5 separate regions of the Homo sapiens genome follow, and all the other regions are linked to region 5. The links are contacts of gene promoters, found by promoter capture Hi-C in human tissues and cell types (Jung and others, 2019). All regions are on one chromosome and are shown on one strand. The core of a region is centred on a gene start or on the middle of the fragment in contact, and the rest is flanking DNA. Distances in the headings are between cores, read along the strand shown. Region 1 overlaps LOC101927863 (a long non-coding RNA gene). Region 2 overlaps ANKRD11 (ankyrin repeat domain containing 11). Region 3 overlaps SPG7 (SPG7 matrix AAA peptidase subunit, paraplegin). Region 4 overlaps ANKRD11 (ankyrin repeat domain containing 11). Region 5 holds the start of PIEZO1 (piezo type mechanosensitive ion channel component 1 (Er blood group)).

Region 1 (2,700 bases), core at 148-2,647, 720 kb after region 5:
AATTTTTAAGTTTAGTTGCTGCCAAATTTGGAAAGAAGCAAATATGTAATTATTTGTTCAGATATTAATAAGGAAGCCTAGATTTTTTTTTTTTTTTTTTTGAGACAGTCTTGGCCTGGCGCGATGGCTCATGCCTGTCATCCCAGCTACTCGAGAGGCTAAGGCAGGAGAATCGCTTGAAGCTGGGAGGCAGAGGCTGCAGTGAGCTGAGATCGCACCACTGTACTTCAGCCTGGGCAACAGAGTGAGACCTTGTCTCATAAAAAAAAAGACAGGGTCTCACTCATCACTGAGGCTGGAGTGCAGTGGCAAGATCTTAACTCACTGCAGCCTCCACCTCCCAGGTTCAAGCGATTCTCATGCCTCAGCCTCTCGAGTAGCTGGAACTACAGGCATGTTGCCACCGTGCCTGGCTAATTTTTTTGTATTTTTAGTAGAAAGAGAGTTTCGCCGTGTTGGCTAGGCTGGTCTTGAACTCCTGACCTCAAGTGATCCACCTGCCTTGCCCTCCCAAAGTGCTGGGATTACAGGCGTGGGACATAGCACCCAGCCAGAAGCCTAGATCTTTTTTTTTTTTTTTCAGATGGAGTCTCTGCCTCCCAGATTCAATCGATTCTCCTGCCTCAGCCTCCCAAGTAGCTGGGATTACAGGCACCTGCCACCGTGCCCGGCTAATTTTTTCTATTTTTAGTAGAGACTGGGTTTTACCATGTTAGCCAGGATGGTCTCATCTCCTGATGATCTCGTGATCCACCGGTCTCGGCCTCTCAAAGTGCTGGGATTACAGGCATGAGCCACCGCCCCAGCCAGCCTAGATCTTAAAATCAAAAAAAGTCCCAAAGATCAACTTCTGTCTCTGGAATGTTAAACGTTACTGTTTGATAGATGAGGCAACTGAAGTTTGTAGAGCACCTTGCCTGAAGCTTCAGCCCACAGCAGGAATAAGGGACAGAGCCTAGAATGCTTCTGCATCAACAGGGAACAAAGGCATGGGGTCTCCTCTCTGTCCACCTTCCCTTCCCACAGCCCAGGCTGAAAGGGCTGCCCTAGGCGCTCCTGAGGCCTCCTCTCTTATGGGGCTAGAGCTGAGGGAACCTGGGGTTGGTAGCCATCCAGAGACCTAAGGCGTGCCCTGACCCAAACCAGGAGTCACCAAGAGACTGCCTCTAGAGAATAGGCGGGGAAGGGAAGTCACACCAAGTCCAAGCGCAGAGTTCAGAGGGCTGAGGAGGGGTGACGCGGAAGTACAAATGAGTAAGCAGCAGTTAGGAAGTGTGCCAAGTCCTGACGTGCAGAGTTCAGAGGGCTGAGGAGGGGTGACACGGAAGCACAAATGAGCAAGCAGCAGTTAGGCAGTGCAGGAAGAACACACAGGCGGAGAAGGGAAAGCGAACGTCCTGCTCTGCTGCAGGCTATGAGGGCAAAGGCAGACCCGGGAGCCCACTGTCCTACAGATCCTTCTTCTTGAATCCAAATCATGCAGCAAAATAAAAACAAAACCCCCAAACCATGGGGCACCCGAATCCTTAAACAAAACCCCTACTGCTTGAGGCTACGTGAGCCTCTGCTGCTGCCGCCACTACAGCAGGGGCTGAAGCTGAGAGCTGAGAGTCACGGTTCACCTGTAGGGCCTGGGATGCAGCCAGCCTTCAAAGCACGGTTGTTAGAGATGAGTTTGAATAAATGCATAAATACTCTGTTCCCATATCCTCATTTCCCATGACGTCCCAGTAATAACTCTGGATGCCAAGGCTTCCTGGCTCGTCAGTTGCCCTCACACACATTTATTGCATTTTATCTTCATAACCACCCTGTGGGAAACCCAAGGCTGATATTAGCCTTGCTTTGCAGATAATTATCATCCCCATTTTACCGCTGAGAAGATTGAGGCTTGAGGAAGCTAATAACTTGCTTAAGGTCATAGGCCAGAGGAGACAGAACCCAGTGTTCTTTCCCCAGAGGAGGCCTCTTGCCAACACCCCACACTGCTTCTGATGAATTGCCAGGAAACAATTTTAACTTATCTCAAACAATATTAATAGGACTACACTTAAACTCCTCCCAAACACATCCAAATGTGTGCCCTCACCCTCTCTCCAGCCTTGTCCCGTGACCAACCCAACCAAACTTCCGAAAGGGTTTTTTGTGTTCTAGGAAGTGACCGAGCCCCACAACCCTTTATGCCTGTGCGTTCAGAGGATTTGTGACCTTTTTTTTTTTTTTTGAGATGGAGTCTCGCTCTGTCGCCCAGGCTGGAGTGCAGTGGCGGGATCTCGGCTCACTGCAAGCTCCGCCTCCCGGGTTCACGCCATTCTCCTGCCTCAGCCTCCCGAGTAGCTGGGACTACAGGCGCCCGCCACAGCGCCCGGCTAATTTTTCGTATTTTTAGTAGAGACGGGGTTTCGCCGTGTTAGCCAGGATGGTCTCGATCTCCTGACCTCGTGGTCCGCCCGCCTTGGCCTCCCAAAGTGCTGGGATGAAGGGCAGGGAGAGGGAGGGGGAGGGCACCGCGCCCGGCCCACCTGGTGTCTTTCAATCAGGGAAAGAAAAAATAGTGGAGGAGGAAACGGCAAGGTTGGATTCACTGCGAAGGCTGACTGTACAATAAGAAGCAAAAGGAAAAGCGGTTCAGTTGTGAAAATCAGTGTCAGCCCTGGGTGTAGGGGAAGGTCCTCTCCACAAACCAACAGAACACCTCCC
Region 2 (2,700 bases), core at 130-2,629, 700 kb after region 5:
AAAAATCCTAACTTTTAAGATTTCCAACCAAATATTAATTAGGTATCTATTAATATGTGCATAGAAGTAACAGAAGATATAAAACAAAAACAAGTCCAAGATGAGCCTAACCATGTATTTGGGCAAACAGAATCCCCGTTCTTCTTTCTATACTCCTTCTAGCAGCAGGCTTCAACCTCCAAAATCTCTAACCCCCTTCTGTTTGGACCCAAAACCACTATCTTGGCCCACATTTTACACTGTCCTGACAAAATATCTGAGGGCAAATACCAGTCTGCCTTGGCCATTAAAGTCATTTAGGCAACACATCTGCCGAGCTGAGCAGAGCCAGCAGGTACCCATCTAACACAAGGCTCCGTCCTGGGCTGTGCCCCTCAAGAATTCCCCAGATAGCCATTTCCTTTCCTCAACTGAGATGCCCACTTCTCCCTCCAGAATGTGGGCAAATCACACCAGTGACGTCCACATCTGTCAAATGTCCCCAGGGCAGAGAATGGAGAGTGACACACAGTAGGCACAAAATAAACAGCACCCAGCTTCTGCCCCACCACCCCGTTCCCCATTCCTGCTTTCTTTTCTGTCTCCTTTGCTCTATCGTTTCACAAAGCCACTCTCCTAACTAATGTTTGCCCCATTCCCTCCACTGGGAATCAATTCATCTTCTCTTTTTCCAAGTCTTTTTAATGAATACCAGTTAACACCATGAAGTCTTCACAATTCACCTACACAGTGTGCTTTCGAGTCCCCTTCCCTATTTCAAGTTTCTCCAGGTTCTCTTGTAGGGATCTTCTTAAGGCTGCATGTGATGTCTTGTGCCTGTCATCCCAGCACTTTGGGAGGCTGAGGCAGGAGGACTACTTGAGGCCAGGAGTTCAACATCAGCCTAAGAAACATAGCGAAACCCCATTTCTACAAAGAATTTTTAAAAATTAGCGCACGTCTGTAGTTCTAGCCACTCATGACGTTGACGCAGGAGGCTCACTTGAGCCCAGAAGCTCAAGGATGCAGTGAGATATGGTCACGCCACTGCACTCCACCCTGAGTGACAGAGCAAGACCTTGTCTCAAAAAAAGAACCATTTAGGCACCATGGTGTTGCAAAGCCAGTGCTTTCATCTAGGCATCCACCGCCTGCAAACTCTGACACATCATCTTCTGCCTCAAAACAAGTAAGCAAATGAAATTCAGGTCTATCATTGCAAACCCTACACAACCCAACTCCAGTCATGCTTCCAGGTTAATCTGCTGTCATCTTCCATCTTCTTGGATGGGCTTTCGTGTTCAGACACGTCTGGCTGACATTCTCACGTTACATGCGGCCTTCCCAGCCTTTGTCCCCAGCCTTCCCGAAGTCGAAGATGCCCTTACTCTGATTTCTGCAGTGACATTCTACTGATTCTTTTTTTAAAACAGAAACATAGCTTACAGTTAAAAAAAAAAAAAATAGCACTTCTTCCCTTAAATCTCCCAGGTCACAGAGCCTTTCCCTCCTCTGATCTATGATCTCTCTTTTCATAAGAACCAATATTTAATGCAAGCTTTAGTCAACTAAATGCATCTTTCTCCCAGATCTCAGAACAGGAGGCCACAGCACTGCACCCAGTGAGCAGCCAATGAACATCTGTGAAGGAAATCAGTGAAACATCAGAAAAAGCAGAGTTTGTCTAGTTTCAGAAGTCCCTTCTATAAAACATGTAGCTCCTTCCAGCTAAAAGAAGACACAAAGCTGTTCTCCCACTGTAGAGCACACTGCACCCCATTTGGAAAAGCAGTCAGGTGAGCCACACGTCAGCCACACCGTGCTTTACAAACATGCCAATGTGTGAACGGTCAGTCACAAAGACATAAAAAAAGATGACTGCCCTCATCAAAACTGCCAAGGTCATGAAAAACAGGGAAACGCTGAGAAATGGTTGCAGACGAGATTAAGGAGACATGACAACTAAATGCAATGTGGGATCCCGGATGGCATCTGAGGACAGCAAGGGAACATTACTGGAAAAACCTCCAGCTTGCTCACCCCTGGAACCTGTGAATGCCTTAGGTTACGTGGAAAAGGGAACTGAGGTTACTAATCAGCAGAGAGGGAGATGACCTCGCAGTGCTCGGGTGGGCCCAATTTGTAACCACAAGGATCCAAAAGTGAAACAAGGGCCAGGCACAGTGGCTCCATGCCTGTAATTCCAGCACTGCTGGGGGGCTGAGGCGGGAGGATTGATTGAGCCCAGGAGGTCGACGCTGCAGTGAGCCTTGATTGTGCCACTGCACTCCAGCCTGGGCAACAGAGCCGAGACTCTCCAAAAAAGCGGGTGGGCAGCAGGAGTCAGAGAGATGCCATGAGGCTGGCTTTGAAGACTGAGGAAAGCACTACAGGCCGAATGCAGGCAGCCTCTGGAACACGGAAAAGACAAGAACACAGATTCTCCCCTGGAGCCTCCAGAAGGAACCAGCCCTACCTACCCAGATTTTAGCCCAGGCAGATCATGTTAGGCTTCTAATCAACAGAACTATAAAACAATAAATCTAAGGTTATGGTGGTTAGTTACAGCAGCGCTGGAAAACCAACACGGGCAGCACTGACACAAGTCCCAGCACTTCTCCAACGCCCAAGAGCTGTTCTCTGTCTCCCTTCCACACCCTCCATTTGCCTTCACTCATCCCCCTGAACCAATATATTTATGGGCTTAGAAGAAAGCTATTA
Region 3 (2,700 bases), core at 116-2,615, 740 kb after region 5:
CCTCCTCAGAGGCGTCTCCCTGGCTTCGCTGCCTGGCGCTGCTTGCCACGCCTCCTTGCAGGCCTCCATGAAGAGTGAGTGAGCGCCCGCTGCTCCAGATCCCCTCTGTGCTGGCCCCAGGCCGGCCTTGAGTCGGTCTCTTGCTGTCTGCAGGGTGCACCTGTCCACCTCCCCTCGAGGTATCCCAATGTCTGGAGAACAGGGGCCGAATGTCTTTTCCATCCTCTGAGAGCTAAGCATAATGCCACCGTGTCTTCAGTAGGGTGTTAATAACTGAGGAAGGTAATTTAGAAGAATTCACCTGGTGCTTCTCATAAAGAGTTGGTCTCTGGGAAAATTCTAGAGTCAAGTGGTCTGGAGTATATGCCTTTAGACTCAACAGTGTATCTCATGATATTTTTAAGTTCTATTTTCAGATGTTGTGATAACCTACAACTTTCTGTTAAATGTTAGTCATTCTGATGAGTAAAAAGTTCAGAATGGTTGTTGGGTAGGGAGAGAGAAGGCACAAGGGTCTTCAGTGGGATTGGGAAGGTATTATTTCTTGAGGCAGGTTGTGGTAAAAGGTATTTGTTTTAATCGTTTTTAATAACTTTTGTGTATGTTTTGATATTTAGTATTTGATCAAACTCCAAGCAACTGGATTCATGGCCATTGTGAGCTTGCACTTTGCAGCAGGAGAGCTGACTGCATCTGTGACGGCTCGGACGGCCTGGGACGGTCGTTTCTTTTCTGAGACAGGGTCGTTCTCTGTCACCCAGGCTGGAGCACAGTGGCGCGATCACGGCTCACTGCAGCTTCAACCTCCCGCCTCAGCCTCCCAAGTAGCTGGGACCACAGGCGTGCACCGTTGTGCCCAGGTCTAAGTGTTTCGATTTAGAAATGGTTTCCTCTTAGGTGGGAACCACTCCTGCTCCTCACTGAAGTGACCTCAGCGAATGAAGTGTGGGTGACCTCGAACAGCACAGCGTTAGTCTTTGTCTCTGATAACGTCAGGGAAGAATTGGAGGAAGTGCAGGATCTTCTGTGCAGGACGCTGCCCCTCCCCGTCCAGCTGAGCTTTCCTGAGGAAGCTCTGGATGTCGCCCGTGTCTGTTGCTCATGTGTTTGTTTCTCCCTTTTGCTTCTCTGCCGGCTCAGAGGAGAGGAGACGCCGTGAGCGGGACGACCAGATGTACCGAGAGCGGCTGCGCACCTTGCTGGTCATCGCGGTTGTCATGAGCCTCCTGAATGCTCTCAGCACCAGCGGAGGCAGCATTTCCTGGAACGACTTTGTCCACGAGATGCTGGCCAAGGGCGAGGTGCAGCGCGTCCAGGTGGTGCCTGAGAGCGACGTGGTGGAAGTCTACCTGCACCCTGGAGCCGTGGTGTTTGGGCGGCCTGTGAGTGAGGGTGCGGGAGGCCTGTGAGTGAGGGTGTGGGCACAGGCTGGCAGCCTGTGAGAGTGAGGCTGTGGGCTCCTGTGAATGAGGGTGTGGGCGCTGGCTGTTGCCATCCTTTTGGATACCTGTGATTGAGGGCATGCTTCTTTCTCATGCAGGGACCTCAGCCCATTGATTTGCATTTATTTGGTTGCCTTTGTTTTTGTTTTTGTTTTTGAGACAGTCTCGCTCTGTTGGCCAGGCTGAAGCGCAGTGATGTGATCTTGGCTCACTGCAACATCTGCCTCCCGAGTTCAAGGGATTCTCCTGGCTCAGCCTCCCGGGTAGCTGGGATTACAGGCGTGCACCACAACGCCTGGCTAATTTTTGTAGTTCTAGTAGAGATGGGGTTTCTCCATGTTGGGCAAGGCTGGTCTCGAACTCCTGACCTCAGGTGATCTGCCCACCTTGACCTCCCAAAGTGCTGGGATTACAGGCGTGAGCCATCGTGCCCAGCCAGATCTGGTAACTTTAGATTCCAAGAGTGCGTCAGAACATGTGCTTGGAGCAATTTAACCCAGGGTAATGTGTGGACCAGTGATTAGGAAAGTGGTCTGGGGTTGGTGTGGCCCACCCCCGGGTCTGGAAATGACCGTGGCCTCCACCAGAGCTTCTGCCCCTTTGCTGGGTTACTCAGGATTCAGAATGCTTTTTCCTTTTCTTTTGCTTTTTTTTTTTTTTTTTGGAGACAGAGTCTCCCTCTGTCTCATCCAGGCTGAGATGCAGGGGTGTGTGTGATGTCGGCTCACTGCAGCCTTGATCTCCTGGGCTCAGGTGATCTACCCACCTCAGCCTCCCCTGTAGCTGGGATGGCAGGCGCGCACCACCACACTTGGCTAATTTTTAAATTTTTTGTTTTTTTGGAGAGATGAGGTCTCACTATATTGCCCAGGCTGGTCTTGAACTCCTGGCCTCAAGTGATCCTTACACCTTGGCCTTCCAAAGTGCCAGATCACAGGCGTCAGCCACCACGCCTGGCGCTGTCTTGCTATTTTTAAAAACAGGAAACCTTGTTCTTAAAATACACCATGGCTAAGTGCAGAAGACGGTGCTCATTCACGTAAATCCTCTGGTGGATGCCTGATTATTTCAGTCTGGAAGGTTATTTTAACCTACAACACTATGCTCAGCTCTAGACGAGTCACCTGATAAAACAGCTGCCTTAAAGAGAAAATGCTCAGAATTCTGTCTTAGCAGTTTGGGGTGTGAGTGAGGGAGCAGCAGGTGCCATCCCCACCCCTCATCCCTGTCCTCTGCTGGAGTTTCCAGTTAACCTCAA
Region 4 (2,700 bases), core at 122-2,621, 510 kb after region 5:
GCCCCAGGGAGTGTGGGGCACTTCCAGCAGCATAAAACAGCACAAATCCAAATGCCAGCCCCACCAGAGGGCAGGAATGGGTCAGAAGTCTCATTGGTGACCTCTCAAAGCCCCTCATCCCTCCTCAGCACCTGTCCCTCTTAGCTGGGGGGACAGTGTCTACCCTGATAGCCCAGTGTCCAGGAAGTGTGGCCCTCTCGAGGGGACAAGCTTTCCGTGGGGTCTGGGCCCAAAGCCCCTTCCTCTACCTCCCTGGGAGGTCTGAAGCTGGGCTCCAAGGCAGAGACCCTGAGGTTGGGCCCCAGGGACGTGGAGGTGTGTGGCCTCAGCTGCTCATCTGAACAAATGCCTTTTGTATCAATCATTTAGCACCTCTAATTTCTAGGCTTTTCTAGCAAGAGTCTTTTAGGAGACACAGGCCACGATACTGTCAACATAGGAAAATGTGCAACTCCTGCGTCCCACCGTAAAACTCGAAGACGTCAAAATACATTCTTGATTCTGCTCCACAAAGGGATGTTTCCATGGCGATATTTTCAAACAACAGAAAGTTCACGGCCGATGGCGGTTACAGCTCATGGAACTGATGGGCAGGGCCGGGTGCAGCTTTGTAGCACGGCTGCTGCTCACAGATTCTCTTCCATTTGACTAAAAACCATGCTGTCCACACCAAACATCTGGCCTCATCCGGATGTTCAAAGCCATGAAATACAGCACTTCTGGCCAAGAAGTCTAAATCACAGCCGATCTACACGAGGCGGATGGTCCACAACGCCAAGTTCCTACCCGGGCACTGAGCTCAACGCTCGCACAACTCCAAACGAGGGCGCAACCATATTCCCACTGACATCCTCCTTGGGGCAGCAAGACAAGCTCCGAACAGCCTGTCCTGGGCCAACAAGAGAAGCTGGCGGGCGCCCGCTGAGCACTGTGAGCCATCTTGTGGTGAGACTGGCTTCTCCTTCCAATCTCCAGGTTTCTCTCTCTTTCTGCCTTCTTTCTGTCAGTTACCGTCATTGATCACTTAAAGAAAGACAGGGCCTACCCCTGTCTGCTGCGTGACCTCAGCCCTCCCGCCTGCCGATGGGAGCTGGGTCATCTCTTACGCCTTTCAGCTTTGGCTTCTTCCGCAGTGTATGTGAAGGGGTCACACAGAGGTAAGGCTGTGCGTCCAGCCCTTGCCTGCACAACCTCCATGCCTTCCCCATCTCCAGGCCGGGGTGGGGTAGGGGTAGGGTGGGGTGGGGCGGAAGGACCAGTTCCACAGGAAGCCTGTGGAGGCAAACAGGGTTATGTGGCAAGGGTGGGAAGGAGCAGGGCCTGAGCCCCATGGTGGTTTCACCAGCATCCAGCGGTCACCATGGTGAACAAGAAGCCAGGAAGGAAGGAAGCAATGTCGGCAAAAGGGCTCAGATGACAACCAAACAGAACGGTTTCCCACCCTGGGCCTCCTTTCCACACACACAGCATCGTGGGTATTTTAAAATAAACAAGATCAACGTCCAAACCTGCGCTGAGGCCTGAGCTGTGTCCGTCACTCCTGCAGGGCACAGGCCTGCCTGGCCGAATGCATGGGCGGTGAGAGCACAGGGCTGGGGGGACCCCTCTGTCGAGGGGCCACAGCTCCTCACACAGCAGAGCTTTATGGATGAAAGGGCTGAGAGGCACAGACAGGCTGAGAAATGGGCCCAAAGTCCCACAGCATGGAGCCAGGAGGTAGCAGACGGCCCCTGCCCGCCCCCCTCACTTGGCTGACTGCTCCCACGGCAGCCACCACCTTTATCCTGAGTCCCGGGGTCCTCCATCAAATCGCTGAGCCTCGGGTGGTCTTGTGGACCCCAGCTTGTCTGTGTTGTGTTGACAACATGGGCCTGGCTACCGGCCTAAGTGCACTTCTGAGGGGTGTCAGGGAAGCCTTTGCTGCGGCTTGGGGATTACAGAATTTTAAACAGCAAGAACCTTCCCTTTGCTAGTCCAAGCTTCCCTTTGTATGAGAAACTGCTTACGTCTAGAGAGGAAAAATGGTTGAGAAATAGGAGGACCAGAGACCAATCACGCGGAGTTCTTAATCATGTGAAAATATTTTATTTTGACGTGCTTTTTCTTGAGTGCCTGAATGTGGTGGCTCTTAGGGTAACCCCAGAATCCTCACTGCGGCAACAAGACCTGGCCACCACCCTCACCTCGACCACCACGGCCTTCGCTGCAGCCCCACTCTGACTCCCCGGGGGCTGCTCACGTGCCAGCACCCACTGGCCAAGCATCCTCCGGCAGGACCCAAGTCCTCTGTATTCAGAGGCCGACCCTGCTTTCCAGAGACTCACGAGGTGGCAGAGAGTCAGGCTGTGGCAGGGGCCCCTGTGTATCGAGGAGAGGAGGAAGAGTCTGCAGAGGTTTCTAGGGAAGGAGATAGTGTGGAAGTGACTGTGGCTCTGGTCCTGCCTGGGAGGAGATCTACAGGGGAGGGGCCTGGCCTTGGGCTGGCCCTGCCCTGCGTGGGATCTGTGCCCTGCGTGGGATCCCTGCCCTGTGTGGGGTGCGTGGGGTCTGTGCCCTGTGTGGGGTGCCTGCCCTGTGTGGGGTGTGTGGGGTCTGTGCCCTGTGTGGGGTGCCTGCCCTGTGTGGGATGCATGGGGTCTGTGCCCTGTGTGAGGTGCCTGCCCTGTGTGGGGTGTGTGGGGTCTGTGCCCTGTGTGGGGT
Region 5 (2,700 bases), core at 103-2,602:
CGAGCTCCCACCTGGAGCGAGGCAAGGGCTCCGAAAGGGCTTTTACAATCAAAAGGCCCCACCTGCCGTGTCCATGGCGGACTCCCAATGCAAACCGTCCCACTTGTCCGTGGGTTAATTCCATCCGACTGCTTCCCAGATCAATCACACGTGGGGAGCCCCCGGGCGGAGGGCGCGGACCCTGGGTCCCGGCTAGGCCAGGGTCGGGGAAGGGTAGGGGTGCCAGGCCGTGCAGCACCAAGCCACCCGGGTGTGCTTCGCGAAAGGGGCACCACTGCCCGGCAAGCAGGGAACACAGATGCCAGGACTGGGGACCCCTGCCCCGCCCTGACACCAGGCCACAGCCTCCGGGGGTGTCCCCTCCCCCAGACCAGGGCAGAGGCCGGCCCCCGCCCCTGCGAAACTGAGCCCAGTAGGGCAAGGGAGGACCAGGGAGGAACCCACACTATTTTTTTCCAAAGTGTGGGACCGCCTCAGTCCGGCAGAGGGGGGTGCAGCGGTGAGCGGGGCTGGGCCCTGGGCACGGACGTTCGTTGGGCTCGGGAAGCTCCAAATTAAACAGCTCCAGGCAGGAAGCCCGCCTTCTCCCAGATTGTCAGGAAGTCCTGATGCAACTTTGCGCTTTTTTTTTTAAACCCGAAAGAGAAAAAGAGATTCGTGCTCCCCCCACCACCGCCGCGGCCCTTCCCACCGGGGCAAACACCGCCTCGCCCGGCGGCCTCCTCTCCGCAGCGCCCCGGCGGAGACGCCAGCCGCGCTATGCCCGGCGCTCGCTCGACCGCCCCCGTGGGCACGCGGTGCCGTCTCCCCCAGCCGCCGCCGCCCTTCCAGCCCGGCCCTGGGACAGGAGCCCCGCCGCCGCCTGGCGCGCTCATGCTTCAGGAATGCGGGCGCCCGGGTCGCGCGTCCCTGGGAATTTCCGCGCCCGCTCGCCCGCAGCCCTCGCCCCGGCCGGCGTCGTCCGGTGTCCAGGCCGTGGGGAGCCGAGACGCAGCCCCCTCCCGTCGCCCCCAGGCGCCCGCCCCCCACTCACCAGCCAGCAGCGCGCAGGGCAGCAGCAGCCAGTACAGGACCGCGCCGAGCACGTGCGGCTCCATGGCTGGAGGGCCCAGGGCCCGGCCCAGACCGAGCGGACGCCGCGGCGCTATGGGGCGGTGCGGGGGCCCCGGGGCCGGCGCGCCATGGCTGACCCGCGGGGACCCGCGCGCCGCCTTCTCCTCTTCCTCCTTCTCCTTCGGCCGCCCCGCCGGTGCCGACGTCCCGGGCCCGCGCTCGCTCAGGCGACCGCCCTGCCCCTCGGCGGAGCGCAGCGCTCGGCTCACTGGGGCCGAGCTGGGCCGGACGGCGGCTCCCGCCCTCCTCCGCCCGCGGGCCTTTATAAGCTCGGCCCCCTCCCGCCCTCCCCGGCGTGCCCGCCTCCGCGCTTCCCCGACGGCCCGGCGCGCCCAGGCACCCCCTCCGCTGTCCCGCGCGGCCCGTCCCGCCTCCGGCCCGCCCTGGTGCGTTGGGGCCTGGAGACCCCCGACTGGCGCTGGCCCGGAGCGGACCCCTCCCCTCCCGCAGTCTTGGCCCCGCGGCTCCGAGCGTGCGCGGCGGTGGGCAGGGGCGCTTCTCGCTGGGTGGGCTGCGGCTGGGGCCCGGGCGCTACATAAGGGGTCCCGGGGCCTCTGGCTCCCCCAGGCAGCGCCCCACGCGCAACTGCACCCCGCGTGCCCGAGCGACTTTCGCTTTGCTCCCCGAGGCGCGAGCACGCAGCGCCCCCTGGGGACCGTGGGGAGGCTCGGAGTTCCCGCGGCGGCCGGGCCTAGTGGTCCCGGAGGGAGCACGCGGGATGCTCGGGTCGCAGCAGTGCCGCGATCCGCGTTGGTCTGACGGGGGCTCGGGGGCTGCTCCCAGCCACGCCGGCCACCGCGCGCGGCTTTGCCCGGGTCGCTCTGGCGTGAGACGGTGAGAGTGAGAGCCACGGCCTGTGCACCTGCTGCCGCGGCGCCCTGCCACGGAGAGGTAGGGTCTGAGTCCAGGGTGTTCGGGACCCTCACCCAGGCCACGTCAGTTTGGCCTTCGTCTGCCCTTGAGATGGGCACAGAAAGAGGGCAAAGGGCTCTACACCGTTTAATTGGGCTCAGTTCATGGCTCTCAAACTCAGCTGCGTAAGGCAGGGAGTGGGGCTGGGGGGACTGTGGCCACTGAGCCTCAAGGCACTGGCAACTCATGAGAGCCCAGCACAAGCCCACACCCTCCAGCTCAAAAAAAAAAAAAAAAAAAAAAGATGGCGGGGCAGTGGCTCAGGCCTGTAATCCCAGCACTTTGCGGGGCTGAGGCAAGGGGGTAGGGGGTCGGGGGATCACTTGACGTCAGGAGTTCGAGACCAGCCTGGCCAACATGGTGAAACCCCGTCTCTACTAAAAATACAAAAATTAGGCCGGGCGCGGTGGCTCACGCCTGTAATCCCAGCACTTTGGGAGGCCGAGGCGGGTGGATCACCAGGTCAGGAGATCGAGACCATCCTGGCTAACACGGTGAAAACCCATCTCTACTAAAAACATAAAAAATTAGCCGGGCGTGGTGGCGGGCTCCTGTAGTCCCAACTACTCGGGAGGCTGAGGCAGGAGAATGGCATCAACCCAGGAGGCGGAGCTTGCAGTGAGCCGAGATAGCGCCACTGCACTCCAGCCTGGGCGACAGAGCCAGACTCCGTCT

Evidence for each region. Contacts are between HindIII fragments. The study calls those that stand out against the background at their distance.
Region 1: a fragment that was not itself captured here is called in contact with the fragment with the promoter of PIEZO1 in region 5 in 1 of the 25 tissues and cell types used here (lymphoblastoid cells).
Region 2: a contact is called between a fragment that was not itself captured here and the fragment with the promoter of PIEZO1 in region 5, in 3 of the 25 tissues and cell types used here (dorsolateral prefrontal cortex, lymphoblastoid cells and thymus).
Region 3: a fragment that was not itself captured here is called in contact with the fragment with the promoter of PIEZO1 in region 5 in 1 of the 25 tissues and cell types used here (lymphoblastoid cells).
Region 4: a fragment that was not itself captured here is called in contact with the fragment with the promoter of PIEZO1 in region 5 in 2 of the 25 tissues and cell types used here (lymphoblastoid cells and spleen).

What each region holds. Positions count from the first base shown.
Region 1 is chr16:89,504,337-89,507,036 of GRCh38, forward strand. LOC101927863 (a long non-coding RNA gene) reads right to left here. Exons shown (of 5, transcript NR_188547.1): 2 at 1,623-1,811; 3 at 709-817. Among named protein-coding and RNA genes, the nearest start is that of SPG7, 2.7 kb to the right of the region's middle. RefSeq lists an enhancer at 1,512-1,561. The HindIII fragment of the contact is 3,703 bases long and covers 1-2,700 here.
Region 2 is chr16:89,480,492-89,483,191 of GRCh38, forward strand. All of the region lies in intron 1 of ANKRD11 (ankyrin repeat domain containing 11), which reads right to left. Among named protein-coding and RNA genes, the nearest start is that of ANKRD11, 8.7 kb to the right of the region's middle. The HindIII fragment of the contact is 7,186 bases long and covers 1-2,700 here.
Region 3 is chr16:89,522,866-89,525,565 of GRCh38, forward strand. It overlaps SPG7 (SPG7 matrix AAA peptidase subunit, paraplegin), which reads left to right. Exons shown (of 17, transcript NM_003119.4): 4 at 1,141-1,382. Among named protein-coding and RNA genes, the nearest start is that of SPG7, 16 kb to the left of the region's middle. RefSeq lists enhancers at 1-335, 2,656-2,700. The HindIII fragment of the contact is 5,277 bases long and covers 1-2,700 here.
Region 4 is chr16:89,296,806-89,299,505 of GRCh38, forward strand. All of the region lies in intron 4 of ANKRD11 (ankyrin repeat domain containing 11), which reads right to left. LOC124903757 (keratin-associated protein 5-2-like) reads left to right here. Exons shown (of 2, transcript XM_047435030.1): 2 at 386-2,700. The coding sequence starts at 2,627. LOC105371414 (a long non-coding RNA gene) reads left to right here. Exons shown (of 3, transcript NR_136339.1): 2 at 386-1,157; 3 at 1,346-1,512. Among named protein-coding and RNA genes, the nearest start is that of ZNF778, 80 kb to the left of the region's middle. The HindIII fragment of the contact is 5,021 bases long and covers 1-2,700 here.
Region 5 is chr16:88,783,868-88,786,567 of GRCh38, forward strand. PIEZO1 (piezo type mechanosensitive ion channel component 1 (Er blood group)) reads right to left here and starts at 1,353. Exons shown (of 51, transcript NM_001142864.4): 1 at 1,034-1,353. The coding sequence starts at 1,097. RefSeq lists silencers at 182-501, 1,002-1,481, 1,522-1,851 and an enhancer at 584-1,497. The HindIII fragment of the contact is 3,328 bases long and covers 1-1,546 here.